Linked DNA regions of Homo sapiens: all the other regions are linked to region 1. Evidence: promoter capture Hi-C in 16 types of primary human blood cells and fetal thymus (Javierre and others, 2016). All regions are on one chromosome and are shown on one strand. Each heading gives the region's core, a stretch centred on a gene start or on the middle of the fragment in contact. The rest is flanking DNA. Distances are from core to core; before and after follow the strand shown. Region 1 holds the start of KLHL6 (kelch like family member 6). Region 2 overlaps YEATS2 (YEATS domain containing 2). Region 3 overlaps YEATS2 (YEATS domain containing 2).

The links. The method cuts DNA at HindIII sites, captures the fragments that hold promoters and counts their contacts. A CHiCAGO score of 5 or more calls a contact.
Region 2: a contact is called between a fragment that was not itself captured here and the fragment with the promoter of KLHL6 in region 1, in 2 of 17 cell types (erythroblasts and M1 macrophages). The highest score is 6.8, in erythroblasts.
Region 3: a contact is called between a fragment that was not itself captured here and the fragment with the promoter of KLHL6 in region 1, in 8 of 17 cell types (endothelial precursors, M2 macrophages, megakaryocytes and 5 more). The highest score is 11.0, in endothelial precursors.

Annotation. Positions count from the first base shown.
Region 1 is chr3:183,553,433-183,558,127 of GRCh38, reverse strand. KLHL6 (kelch like family member 6) reads left to right here and starts at 2,422. Exons shown (of 7, transcript NM_130446.4): 1 at 2,422-2,767. The coding sequence starts at 2,475. The HindIII fragment of the contact is 8,561 bases long and covers 1-4,695 here.
Region 2 is chr3:183,787,329-183,792,023 of GRCh38, reverse strand. It overlaps YEATS2 (YEATS domain containing 2), which reads right to left. Exons shown (of 31, transcript NM_018023.5): 21 at 1,044-1,227. Among named protein-coding and RNA genes, the nearest start is that of YEATS2-AS1, 21 kb to the left of the region's middle. The HindIII fragment of the contact is 202 bases long and covers 1,831-2,032 here.
Region 3 is chr3:183,770,525-183,775,219 of GRCh38, reverse strand. YEATS2 (YEATS domain containing 2) reads right to left here. Exons shown (of 31, transcript NM_018023.5): 16 at 2,657-2,915; 17 at 1,426-1,587. Among named protein-coding and RNA genes, the nearest start is that of YEATS2-AS1, 38 kb to the left of the region's middle. The HindIII fragment of the contact is 2,373 bases long and covers 734-3,106 here.

The DNA of each region.
Region 1 (4,695 bases), core at 1,173-3,672:
CTTGAGCCCAGCAGTTCAAGACCAGCCTGGCCAACATGGCAAAACCCTGTCTCCACTAAAGATACAAAAAATTAGCCAGGTGTGGTGGTGCATGCGTGTAGTCCCAGCTACTTGGGAGGCTGAGGCAGGAGAATCGCTTGAACCTGGGAAGCGGAGGTCGCAGTGAGCTGAGATCGCACCACTGTACTCTAGCCTGGGCAACAGAGTAAGACTCCGTCTCAAAAACAAACAAACAAACAAACCTAAACTCCAAATTTTCTTGTAATTTTTATTAGAGTAAAATAAACCTATAAATGTATTCGGAAAGAATTGGTCCTTTTAATAATATTTAGTCTTTCCATAAAGGAACTTGGTATATTTATTTAAGTTTTCTTTCGAAACTCTTAGTAAAGTTTGTTAGTTTTCTTTATGTTGCTGGTTGCTGTTATTGCTAGGCATTTACATATGTTTTATTACCATTGTGAATGGCATTATTTTTCCATGACTTTTTTTTTTTTTTTGAGGCAGAGTTTCGCTCTTATTGCCCAGGCTGGAGTGCAATGGCACAATCTCAGCTCACTGCAACCTCCACCTCCCGGGTTCAAGCGATTCTCCTTCCTCAGCCTCCCAAGTAGCTGGGATTACAGGTGTACGCCACCGCGACTGGCTAATTTTTGTATTTTTAGTAGAGATGGGGGTTTCACCATGTTGCTCAGGCTGGTCTTGAGCTCCTGACCTTGTGATCCCCCTGCCTTGGTCTCCCAAAGTGCTGGGATTACAGGCATGAGCCACCACGCCCGGCCGTCAGGTTTCTTTATATGCTCCATTATAATCTTTTGGGACCACAATTGTATATTCAGTCCATCATCGATTGAAATGTCATTGTGCTGGGCATGACTGTACTTGTGACCGTTAATTTTAGATGTCAAGTTTACTGGGCTAAGAAATACCTAGCAACCTGTTAAAGCATTACCATGGGGCGTGTCTGTGAGGTTGTTTCCAGGAGAGATTAGTGAGTCTGAGTGGACTCGGTAGAGAAGATACACTCTCAGTGTGGGTGGGCACCATCCAATCAGCCAGGGGCCCAGAGAAAACAAAAACAGAAGAAAGGTCGATGTCTCTATCTCCTGAGGCTGGGATACAGTCATCTCCTGCCTTGAACAACAGGACTCCAGGATCCCCTGCCTTTGGACTTCAGGACTTACACCAGTCTCCCCACCCCCTGGATTCTCAGGCCTTTGGCTTTGGACTGAGAGTTATACCATCTTCTCTGGTTCTGAGGCCTTTGGACTTGAACTGAGCTCTCAGCAGTCTGTCATGCGACTTCTCAGTCTCCATAATCACGTGAGCCAATTCCCCTAATAATTTCCCTCTGCTATGCCTCTCTAGGTATCCTTTTGGTTCTGTCTCTCTGGAGTCCATCATCGACTGAAATATCATTATGCTGGGTATGACTGTAATTGTAATGGTTAATTTTAGATGTCAAGTTTGCTGGGCTAAGAAATACCTAGCAACCTGGTAAAGCATTACTGTTGGGCGTGAGAGAACGCTAACTGATACGCTCCTATAACTTCCCCAGGATATCATGGGATTTTAATAATGACAGTTATTACTACTTAACTGAGACATGCAGAGGTAATGAAAATACTTCAGGATCCACCGTTAGATGCACGGTCAGTAGATGTTGGGCTAATCTGAGACGTGCTATGGCAATTCGGTGTAGACCCACCCTGACTCATCCTCTGAGAAGATGCTGTTGATGGAGTTTTGGAAACCATTTCTTCTGTGCCCCCAAAGCATATTCGAAACAATAGACATTTTTTTTGGTGGGGGAAGACATGAAAGTTTGCCATGACGTTGTTTTCCCCTGGGTAGGGAGGAGGATGAAGATAGACGATCTGCAGTGCCGCCAGAAATGAGAATGTCAGGGATAAGTGGGGTTTCCATGGTTTACAAAGCACGGTTGTTGGATCATTGTGGGGTCTCAGACTCCTGGGAGGAGGAAGTGGGAGGATCATAGACTGTCTCCTGTCCATCCCCTCGCTGACGACTTGGGTTATTGAGCCACTAGGAGTACAAATGTGAAGCAGGAGGATTATAGACTGTCTCCTGTCCATCCCCTCATTGACGACTTGGGTTATTGATAGCATTAGGAGTACAAATGTAACAGCCACCACCGGAGGCTTCCTGCTCACGGATATGAGGTGGGAGATGCACCAAAATAAACACACAGCACTCACAGTGGACTCTGAGAGGACACTCCTCTTCCAGAACCCCCTCCCACACACCTATTCTAAGTAATTTCTAACCCTGTGATTACTCACAGAAAGAAGAAGAATAGAAGTTGCTGGCATTTGTAGTAACAGGATGAGAAAGTGCGAGACTTCCTGTTATGTGTGTGTGACAGCTGGTGATAAGTGGAGGGCCCTGCACAGGAAATCCGCTCAGCTCCTGCAATGGGGCCTGCCTGACACTTGGGCGCTCCTTCAGTCTCGATGTTGATGGCAGGACAAAGGGGCGCCTGGACCATGGGTGATGTGGTCGAGAAGAGTTTGGAAGGGCCCCTGGCACCTTCTACAGATGAGCCCTCCCAGAAAACAGGAGACTTGGTCGAGATCTTAAATGGGGAAAAGGTCAAATTTGACGACGCGGGACTCTCCTTAATTCTTCAGAATGGCCTGGAAACCCTGCGAATGGAAAACGCTCTGACAGATGTCATCTTGTGTGTGGACATTCAGGAATTCTCCTGCCACCGCGTGGTGCTTGCCGCAGCCAGCAACTATTTCAGGTCAGCATGCCTAGGACCAGAGTCAAATTGGGTGCAAGTTGCAAGGAAGAGGTGTGTTAGTGTGAGAGCCCAATCTTGAACAGTTGGCCATGATATTTATGGTTTACATATATATTAAGGCTTGTGTGTCTACTTAAAATATAAGAAAGGACACTATCACACTTTATTTTATTATTTATTTATTTATTTATTTTTGAGACGGAGTTTTGCTTTTGTTGCCCAGGCTGGAGTGCAATGGCGCAATCTCGGTTCACCGCAACCTCTGCCTCCTGGGTTCAAGCGATTCTCCTGCCTCAGCCTCCCGAGTAGCTGGGATTTGCAGGCATGCACCACAACACCCGGATAATTTTGTATTTTCAATAGAGATGGGGTTTCTCCATGTTGGTCAGGTTGGTCTTGAACTCCCGACCTCAGGTGATCCACCCGCCTCCGCCTCCCAAAGTGCTGGCATTACAGGTGTGAGACGCTGCGCCCGGCTTATCACACTTTAAATTTTAGGATTTAGGCCACATTAAAAGAGAGATTGGCATCATTTAAAAGCAATGCTTACATTCTATAGTAAACCTTTTGTGTATATTTCCTTGTTCCAAAGGATGGAAAATTACTGAAGTCATGGGGACTTTTTTCCCCCTTGGTCTGACTGGTGTTGGAAACATAATGTTGTCTTTGTTAATCAACAGACATAGAGAAAAAGGATGTGGCCCCTCTTCTGGAGTTGTCAAATGACTTGTTACAAATTAGGGGCTTCTTTATGTGTAGGCAGTGTGGGGAAAGGGAAAGCAGTTACAAAGATGCTTTAGATGGGAGAGGCCTCTAGTTACGATAAACTGGTGATCTCATAGTGGGAAGGCCTGAAGTCAGGAGACTTGGTTCCTTCTTGACAGTGAAACTTTAGGCAAGTCACAAAGTGCTCTGAATGTCTGTTTCATCATCTGTAAGGTGAGCACAATGATGATCACCTTTCAGGGCTGTCATAATTAAACAAGAGCGTGAAAAGGGTCCTACACAGTGTCTAGCATATAGTAAGTAGATGCTCAATATATCTTTCTTGGAATTCTTTTTCTGATTCTGCTTGATTCAGCTAAGGATGACTTATTGAGTGTTTCCCATGAGCACGTCCCTGGGGTAGGAATTTTATAGCGCTGGGAACCCAGTGAATACACCTGATCCAGTGTTCTCCATATCAGCATGGACATGGGGGAACCAGCCTGCAAGGGCAATGTGGATAATGAAGAAAGTATTTGGGAACTTGAAAAGAAATACCCTTAGAATTCTTCTTAATGAGATTCTTCTTAACTCTTGATTCTGGCTGAGGAAATTGAAAACGATTAACCTATGAAAGTATTATGGAAAGCGTTTTCTTTCTTTCTTTTTTTTTTTTTTGAGGTGCTTGGGGGGAAACGTTTCTTTGTAATTCATAGAGCAGGATCAGCAGGTTGCTGTGGGACTCATTAGGTCTCCTGTGTTGATAAGACAAGGGGATATCTGGGTTTGAGGGAAGCAGTGGCTGCTGTGTGCCAGACAGACATAGTTATCTGATTTTATTTTTGTAACAGCATGATGAAGGTGGCTGATATTTCACAGATGAGGAAATGAAAACTCAGCATTATATATCTGGTCATTGCTGGAGCAGGGACTGGGTATGTTCTGGAAATCCTTGTTACTGCAATGCAAGCTGCCACTAGGTCTGGGACTTCATTCCATGGGAAGTGTGTAAAATATAAAGTGTAAACACAGCCATCAAAATGGGTTGATATAAACACATTACTTTCTCCACCAACCTTGATCACGTGCTTTCACGTTGACTGCAGCCCCTCTCAGGAGTGAGTGAAGTCAAGTTAGCTCAATGCCCTGGGGACGCACATTTAGGTTGATCCTTTTGTATCCCTTGCTATCATAAAATGCATACCTGGAAGCAGTTTTGTTAG
Region 2 (4,695 bases), core at 682-3,181, 230 kb before region 1:
ATAATGGCCACTACACACCAGACAGTATTCTAAGCACTGATATATTACAAACTCATTTAAACCTCTCAACCTTATGAAGTAGGTATTATTATCAATCTCATTTACAGCTGAGAAACTGAAGCAAATCACTTCAACTAAGGCAATGTGGTCTCAGGATGTGTGCTCTCTGTTACTCAGAAACAAAAGGTACACTTTTCTGAGGCCCTCTAGTGCAGGCACAAAGACACCATAGCTCTTACTGGATCTCCAGCCTATCACTCTAACACTAGCCAAGATAATAACTAATGTTAAAAATTATGACTTGGAGTCAACAAGGCTAAGATATATTTTATATACTTTATAAAAGCAAAGAAAGGTATACATTTTATAGTGAATTCTATTCGACACTGATTATAGGAAAAAAGAAATTAGTACTTTAAGGAAAGCAAACTCTTGGCTCTCCCCAAAATTACGTTATAAAAAAAGCTAAAATACCCAGTAGGGTTCTGCGTGGCTAAGGGTTTATTATATCATTCAAAAATTCAAATAGTAACTTTCAAATGATAATTTAAAGTCTCAGACAAAATCTGATACGTAGATTTTAAACAAAAATAATTCATCTAAAAAGCAACTGTTCAGAAAATGCTGCTGGGTTAATTACTTTTAACAATTTACCATACAAAATATTGCTTAAGACCCTCCAAAAAAATAGCTGGGCACAGTGGCTCACGCCTGTAATCCCAGCACTTTGGGAGGCTGAGGTGGGTGGACTGCTTGACCTGAGGAGTTCAACACCAGCCTGGGCAACGTGGTGAAACCCCATCTCTACCAAAAACACAAAAAATTAGCTGGGTGTGGTGACATGTGCCTGTGGTCCCTGATAATCAAGAGGCTGAGGTGGGAGGATGGCTTGAGCCTGGAAGGCAGAGGTTGCAGTGAGTCGAGATTGTGATATTGCACTCTAGCTTGGGCGACAGAGTGAGACGCTATCTCAAACAAACAAACAAAAATATTCCAGCCCAATGAGAGAAAAGAGAGAGAAATAATATCACAATGCAACTCACCGGATACTGTGGCTTTCCCAGAGATGGGGTTTGGTGTAGGCACGAGGGACGTGGCGCTGACGACGGTGGGGGTGGCAGCCTTGCAGGTTCCCACGGTGGCCTGGCTCACACACACTTGCTGCTGCCCAGAAGTTTTCGTTACAGAACTGACCGTAGATGAAGACACGGGAGCCATTCCTTCAGACTGCTCACCCATGGGGTCCGAAACAACACAGTTCAGGAAGAAAGCAGAGTGATGACTGACGGCGGTGACGGCCACACAGCACACACACTAAATATCATCTATTAGGTGTTAATGACTACTTAGTAAATGCCATACCATTTAAAAAAGATTACTTCTCTAGTTCAGTGGTTACTATACCTTTACATTTCATGGACCAAGAAAATTTAAAAAATTTAAAACAAGGAAGTATCATGGGGGTCATCATATTTTTAAAATTCACCACCTATTATATCCCTTTATAAAAGGCAACTTCATCACCAAAAAACTAGGAGGACATATTCTCAGAATATACACATGGACTAAAAATGAGCTTTATTAAGAACACATGACAATGATTCACTTCATTGAACAAACATCTACAGTCTGTCACTTCATTGAACAAACATCTACTACATGGCCGGCATAATGGTTAAGTGCTAAGGCTCTGAGAGAAAAGCGACCAAGGAAACAGTCACCTAAGTATAATGATGCTACGGCAAGCACAGGCAAATGTCACCAACACAACCAAGAAGAAAGGCACTGCTTCTGCCTAGGAATAGAAACAGGAGGGTACAGGAAAAAGCTTCAGGTAAAACATTAGGCACTTTAGAGGAATCTTCCAGATTTAAGACAGAGAAAGGGAGAGATGACAGTGTTTCCTGGCAGAGGAGAGTATGTAGAAAGTTGGTGAGGCATGAAAGAACATTGTATGTTCAAGAAGCTGCAAAGCAGAGTGGTGTCACCTGTGAAGAGGCACGGGGAAGCAGCAGCTGCAGGAGATGAAGCTTGAGAAGTCAAGCCACATCATTCAAGTCTGTGGGCTTCCAAGACGATTGAGAGATGGTTTTTCAACAAATGTTTCTAGGCCAACTGGATATTTACATAAAAAAGAATAAAGTTTGGTGTCTACCTCACACCACGTACAAAAATTAACTAGAGCGGCCAGGTGCAGTGGCTCATGCCTATAATCCCAGCACTTTGGGAGGCCAAAGCGGGTGGATCACGAGGTCAGGAGAGCAAGACCCTCCTGGCTAACATGGTGAAACCCCATCTCTACTAATACAAAAAAAAAAAAATTAGCTGGGCGTGGTGGTGGGTGCCTGTAATCTCAGCTACTCAGGAGGCTGAGGCAGGAGAATCACTTGAATCCAGGAGGTGGAGGTTGCAGTGAGCCGAGATCGCGCCACTGCACTCCAGCTTGGGTGACAGAGCGAGACTCTGTCTCAAAAAAAAAAAAAAAAAAAAAAAAAAAATTAACTCGAATGAATCTGAAACCTAAATATAAGAGCTAAATGTATAAAACTTAGAAGAAAACAAAGGCTTGAATTTTGTGGCTTTGGATTAGGCAATGGTTTCTCAGATGTGACATCAAAAGAAAAAGCAATGAAAGAAAAATAGGTAAGTTGGGACTTTAATAAAGACTTGTGCTGGGAAAACTGGATATCTTTATGCAGAAGAATGAAACTAGACCCCTAGCTCTCACCATGCAATCAAAATGGATTAAAGAGTTAAATCTAAGACATCAAACTACGAAACTACTACAAGAAAACATTAGGGAAACTCTCCAGGACATCGGTTTGGGCAAAGATTTCCTGAGTAGTACCTCAAAAGCACAGGCAACCAAAACAAAAATGTATAAATGGGATCACATCAAGTTAAAAAGCTTCTGCACAGCAAAGAAAACAATCAACAAAGAGACAGCCCACAGAATGGGAGGAAATACTGGCAAACTACATATACATCTGACAAGGGATTAATAATCAGAATATAGAAGCTCAAACAACTCTATAGAAAAAAGCCAAACAATCTCATTTGAAAATGGGCAAAAGATCTCAACACACATTTCTCAAAAGAAGACACATAAATGGCCCAAGGGGCATATAAAAAAATGCTCAACATCATTAATTGTGAGAGAAACACAAATCAAAACTACAATGAGAAAGCATCCCACCCAGTTAAAATGACTCTCATCCAAAAGGCTGGCGAGGATGTGAAGAGGGAACCCTCGTACACTGCTGGTGGGAATCTAAGTTAGTACAATCACGATAGAGAACAGTACAGAGGGTCCTCAAAAAACTGAAAATAGAACTACCATATGATCCACATCCCACTGCTAGGTATATACCCAAAACAAAGGAAATGAGTATATGAGGAGACGTCTGCACTTCCATGTTTATTACGGCACTATTCACAATAGCCAAGATTTGGAATCAACCTAAGTGTCCATCACCAGGTGAACGATAAAGAAAATGTGGTACATATACACAATACAATATTATTCCGTTATAAGAAAGAATGAAATCCTGTCATTTGCAACATGGATAGAACTGGAGGACATTATGTTAAGTGAAATAAGCCAGGCACAGAAAGACACATTTCACACGTTCTCACTCATGTGGGAGCTAACAATTAAAACAACTGAACCCATGAAGACAGAGAGAAGAATGGTGGTTACCAGAAGGTGGGAAGGCCAACAGCAGGGAGGGAGGGAGTGGGGATGGTTAATGGGTACAAAAATATAGTTAGAAGGGATGAGTAAGATCTAGTATTTGATAGCACAACAGGGTGACCAAAATTCACAATAATTTCTTATATATTTTACAGTCACAAAGAATACAATTGGTTTAAAAAAAAGATAAATGCTTAGGGTGACAGATACCCCAATTACCCTGATGCGATTATTACGCATTGTATGCCTGCATCAAAACATCACATGTACCCTGTGAATATCCACATTGATTATGTACCCATAATAATTTATTTATATATATTTTTTGAGATGGAATCTCGCTCTACTGTCCAGGCTGGAGTGGAGTGGCGCAATCTCGGCTCACTGCAAGCTCTGCCTCCTGGGTTCATGCCATTCTCCTGCCTCAGCCTCCTGAGTAGCTGGGACTACAGGCGCCCGTCACCACGCCCCGCTAATTTTTTTTTTTTGTATTTTTAGTAGAGACGGGGGTTTCACCTTGTTAGCCAGGATGGTTTGATCTCCTGACCTCGTGATCCGCCCTTCTCGGCCTCCCAAAGTGCTGGGATTACAGGCATGAGCCACTGCGCCCAGCCTAATTTAAAAAATTTAAAAAGGAATGAAAACCAAAATTTAAAACTTTTGTGGTTCAATACTATCAAGAAAGTGAAAAGACAGCTCAGAGTGCAAGAAAATTTTTGCAAATCTGGTAAGAGACATATCTAGAATATATAAAGTACTCCTACACTTCAACGATTAAAAGACAACCAACTAAAAAATGGGCAAAGGATGTAAATGGATAAAAGATATACAAATAGCCAATAAATACGTGAAAAGATGCTCAATATCATTAACAGGGAATCGCAAATCAAAACCACAATGAGATACTAGTTTACACCCACTACAATAGCTATAATTAAAAAAAAAGGACAAGAACAAGTTTGGGTGAGTTTGTGGAAAAACTGGAACCCTTGTATATCGCT
Region 3 (4,695 bases), core at 671-3,170, 220 kb before region 1:
AGTGTAACTTTACAGTGCTCGATGTTGTCTCCCTGTCTCAGGAAAAATGAAGACTTTCCTTCATTTACAATGACTCCAGGACCCCATTCTTCTTTGCCTTTCAAATCCCACTTCAAAGCCTTGAAGTCTTTTTACTTCTCTTTTGGTGAGATAATGCATTTGAACTACCTGGACTATGAATATTCACTCAACAAATACTAACTTCCAATTTCCTTCTCCACCTTCATTCCAGTGATTATTGGAATAGCTTCCTTCCCAATGGTTTATTTTTGCACCAAGGATATCACAAGAATCTAAGTAGCTCCCTGGATGACTTCTGAAATATTTACATTGTCCTTTTCTTACACATTTAACTTTTGGACATACCACTGCTTAGGTATGAGGAAAAAACACCAAGTGAGAGTGGAACTGACACATCATGGTCAATGAACGCAAGGATGATGAGCTGACACACTGCATTTTGGCAAGGGCGGTTAACTTCCAATGACCCTGAATGCTGTACCCTTCTACTTCTGATTCAGAGGGAAATAATTTCCTTTTATCCTATCCTTTTCAACACTGCCCAAACGGTTTTTCTCTATATGTCAAAGCAAAAGTTTCTTTAACTGCAGATAAACTGCCTCATTTCCATGGGGCTTTAAGACTTACAAACCTAGGTAGAGTCTGTATTTCTCTTTCCATCTCCAAACCTAGCAGAAGTAAGGAATACATCCAAACCAGCTGTCCCCAAGCTTTGTGGCACCAGGGACCAGTTTCATGGAAGACAACTTTTCCATGAATTGGGACAGGAGGCGGGGGGTGGTTTGGGGAAGAAATTGTTCCACCTCAGATCATCAGGCATTAGATTCTCATAAGGAGCACACAACCTAGATCCCTCGCATGCACAGTTCTCAACAGGGTTCGCGCTCCTGTGAGAATCTGATGCCACTGCTGATCTGACAGGAGGCGGAGCTCAGGCAGTAATGCTTCTTCGTCCATGCTCAACTTCTGCTGTGCGGCCCAGGGGTTGGGGACCCCTGATCTAAATGAAGTCAAACAGACACACTCGATTCCAATCCTATGCCAACCTATCCCCAAAAACAGACTTCCAGCTTCTATAAGTAGATGGATCTTCCCTCAGGTATCACCAGATAATTTTCAGACACCACTTCATTCATGGTTCATGTAGACAGCTTTCTCCCAACAGCCTCACCAGCCATCTCTCTCCAGAGTGATTCATCTCTGATTGCAAACGCTGAGGAGCAAACCCACTTCTAGTTAAATTATCGTATGTGTTAAATCCATCTGAGCAAATGCTACCATTACACCACCCAACAGAGTTACAGAAATGCTTCCTGAAACAGGTAAGAACTGCCCTCAGATGGACAAGATGAACACACATAGAGAACCAAGAACCAAATGATTCAACCCAATGGTTTCACTAACTAGCATTGTTCGTAGCTCGCAGGATGGCTCCTTGAGGGATCAGCAGCAGTTTTCCTTTTCCTGAAGGGTTCTTGCTGTTTGTAGTTAGGTAGAGTTTAGTGCCAGGAGGCAAATTTGCCAAGTTGGCCAAATTAGTGGCTGGTAGCTGCAACGTTGCCATTACTAAAATGGTAAAGGAGAAAAAATTGTAAGATAAATTGAAACTAAGGGCAACACTCTAAAATTAAAATACAAGGCAATAAATTCTTATTTTAGAACACTAACAAGCAATAAATTCAAAGTTTGTTTCCCAGATGCACAATGCTTTAAAGACTGATATTCTTAAATATCTTGCTAATTAAAAAATAATTTATAGACCAGAAGAGCCTGCCAGAGGCTCTTTATATCTGTATATAATAGGATGATCGTACGTCCTGGTTCTGCCCAGAACAGTTCTAGGTTACACCTGTCCCACTATAATTATTAATAATGACTCTTTTTACTCTCCAAAGTACTGTGGTTTGGACGATTAATGAAATAATCACCCTGTCTATGGAGGATTACATATTTTCCCCCATTTGTTTAAAGTCAAAGTTAGGGCAAATGTGTGCTCCTAACTGGCAAGTACCATTGGCCCTCTGTATCTGTGGATTTCACATCCATGGATGTAACCTACCTCAGATAAAAAATATCCATATATTTGGCAGACAAAAGGATGAGTACATCTGTACTGAACATGTACAGACTTTTTTCTTGTCATTATTCCTTAAACAACACAGTGTAACAACTATTTACATAGCATATACATTGTTATTACATTGTTATTTACATTGTTATTAGGTATTAAGATAACCTAGAGATGATATAAAGTAAAGTACATCAGAGGATGTACATAGGTTATACGTAAACAGTACAGCATTTTACACAGGGGACTGTGGATTAGCATCTGTGGATTTTGCTATCTGCAGCAGGGGGTCCTGGAACCAATCCCCCACAGTACTGAGAAATGATTTGTTCGTGTGTGTGTGTGTATGTGGGTGTGTGTGTGTGTGTGTGTAAATTTAAAGCTAAATACTCACAGACCTTTATGTAAAATGTCCCATAAAAAAGAACAAACATTTCAATACACTTCTTACAGCATCAACCTAACTAGGCTTTCCTAGACCAGATCAAATAGCAAATAAAATCACTAGCAAAGGAAATTTTGGACAGAGCTTCTGCTGAAAGGGCTCCCAGTGATGATCCGTTTTACCTGAACCCTGGGATCCACTCTTCTGAGGACCAGCGGCAGTAACCTGGGCCTTGGTTAAGGTCTGCACTGGCTGAGCAACAATGGTTCCTCCACCTCCACTCACAATTGCTTTGGCAACTCCTTGGGTTACAACTTGCTTTGGCCCAACTGCTTTGGAGACAGAAGAGCTGGCCTTGGCTACCAGGATCTGGCCACCACTGATCGCCACAGCCTGCTTCACTGTTGAAGGTAAAGCAGACCCAACTGGTACCCCGACAACCTGTTCAAAACAGAGCAGAGTCCAACGGTGCTTCGAGAGCTCTTAGAACAGCAGTCACCGTTTTGGCAGAGAGCAAAACAAAGGCCTGCACATAATACATGCAGCCTAATTCAGTCATCTAGGAAAGCTACCTACACAGGTGTGAACGGCAACTGTATTTCTTACACTTGGGTATTACAATAATAGAAGCTTAACAATTGTTGTCTTGCCTCAGCTACTTTTTATAATTTACTTTAATAGAAAATTTGGGAAATTCAGAAGTATAAAGAAAAAAGTTTGGCCGGGCGTGGTGGCTCATGCCTGTAATCCCAGCACTTTGGGAGGCCAAGGCAGGAGGAGCATTTGTGGTCAGGAGTTCGAGACCAGCCTGGCCAACATGGTGAAATCCAATCTCTACTAAAAATACAAAAATTAGCTGGGCATGGTGGCACACACCTGTAGTCCCAGCTACTCTGGAGGCTGAGGTAGGAGAATCCCCTGAACCTAGGATGTGGAGGTTGCAGTGAGCCAAGATCATGCCACTGCACTCCAGCCTGGGTGACAGAGTGAGACTCTGTCTAAAAAAAAAAAAAAAAAAAAAAAAAAATTAGCCAGTACAGTGGCACACATCTGTAGTCCCAGCTATTCAGGAGGCTGAGGCAGGGGAGGATCCCTTGAGCCTAGGAGTTCAAGGCTGCACTGAGCCGTGATCACACCACTGCCCTCCAGCCTGGGTGACAGAGCAAGACCCTAAGAAAAGAAAAAAAAAAAAAAAAAAAAAAGGCAAGAATAATATTTAACTATTAAAAAAAAAAAAGACCCCAGTACCCAAATAATGAAAATTAGAAGTATCTAGTTCCAAAAGTAAAATGAATTCTTTTAAGAAAATACTCAGGAGTGTTTTTAAAACAAAGTCAACAGTAGGATGTTAAATTAAACACTGAATGAATGGCAAACTGGAGCAGTGTTTCCCACTCCCAGCACCTTATTTCATAAAAAGAACTTCTCACCAGAAACTAGATGAACAGACTTCCACAAGGTTGGAAGAAATGCAAATGATCTACCTTCTTAAGGCAAAAAAGACAAAATAGGAAGTGCTGTTCACCCATCAGATTGGGGGAAAAAGAGTTTAAAACCAAGAAGTTACTAGAGGCTGTGGGGAAAATAGGAATTTGTGCTCACTGTTGGTAGGAAGATAAATTTGGACAGCCATTCCAGAGAGGCACTGGCCCATCTGCTAAAACTGAAAATTCACATACCCCCGTATAGTAGGAATTGTTTTTAGGAATATATCCTAGAGAAACATACATGCGTTCAAGGGAACATATACAACAATGCCCAACATAGCATTATTTTTACCAAAAACTGTTAGCAACCTTAATGTCTGCAGCATGCAACAACATTCTTAACGTCTACAGATAGAGGAATGGACAAACTGTGGCATAAAACAGACAACGAAAGGTCATACTAAAAATAAATGAACTAGAATTATATATATTAGTGATATATTAGTGTAAACAGACTGGAAAAATAAGAAAGCGAAAAGGGAGTTGCAGAAAAATGTAAGTAGGAATATCTTTTACGTAAACCTTCAAAACACAAACAACATCACGTTTCCTATGACTATGTATTCATGTAATAAGCGCATGGAGTGGAAGGCTACACATCAAAGCCATGACAGTGCTTGTTGCCTCTGGGAAGAACAAAGTGGACTTCAACTTTATCAGAAATGTTTTATTTGGAGAAAAAAGATCTGAAGTAAACATGAATAAGTAAATTTGGGGTGGAGGATATGGGGGTA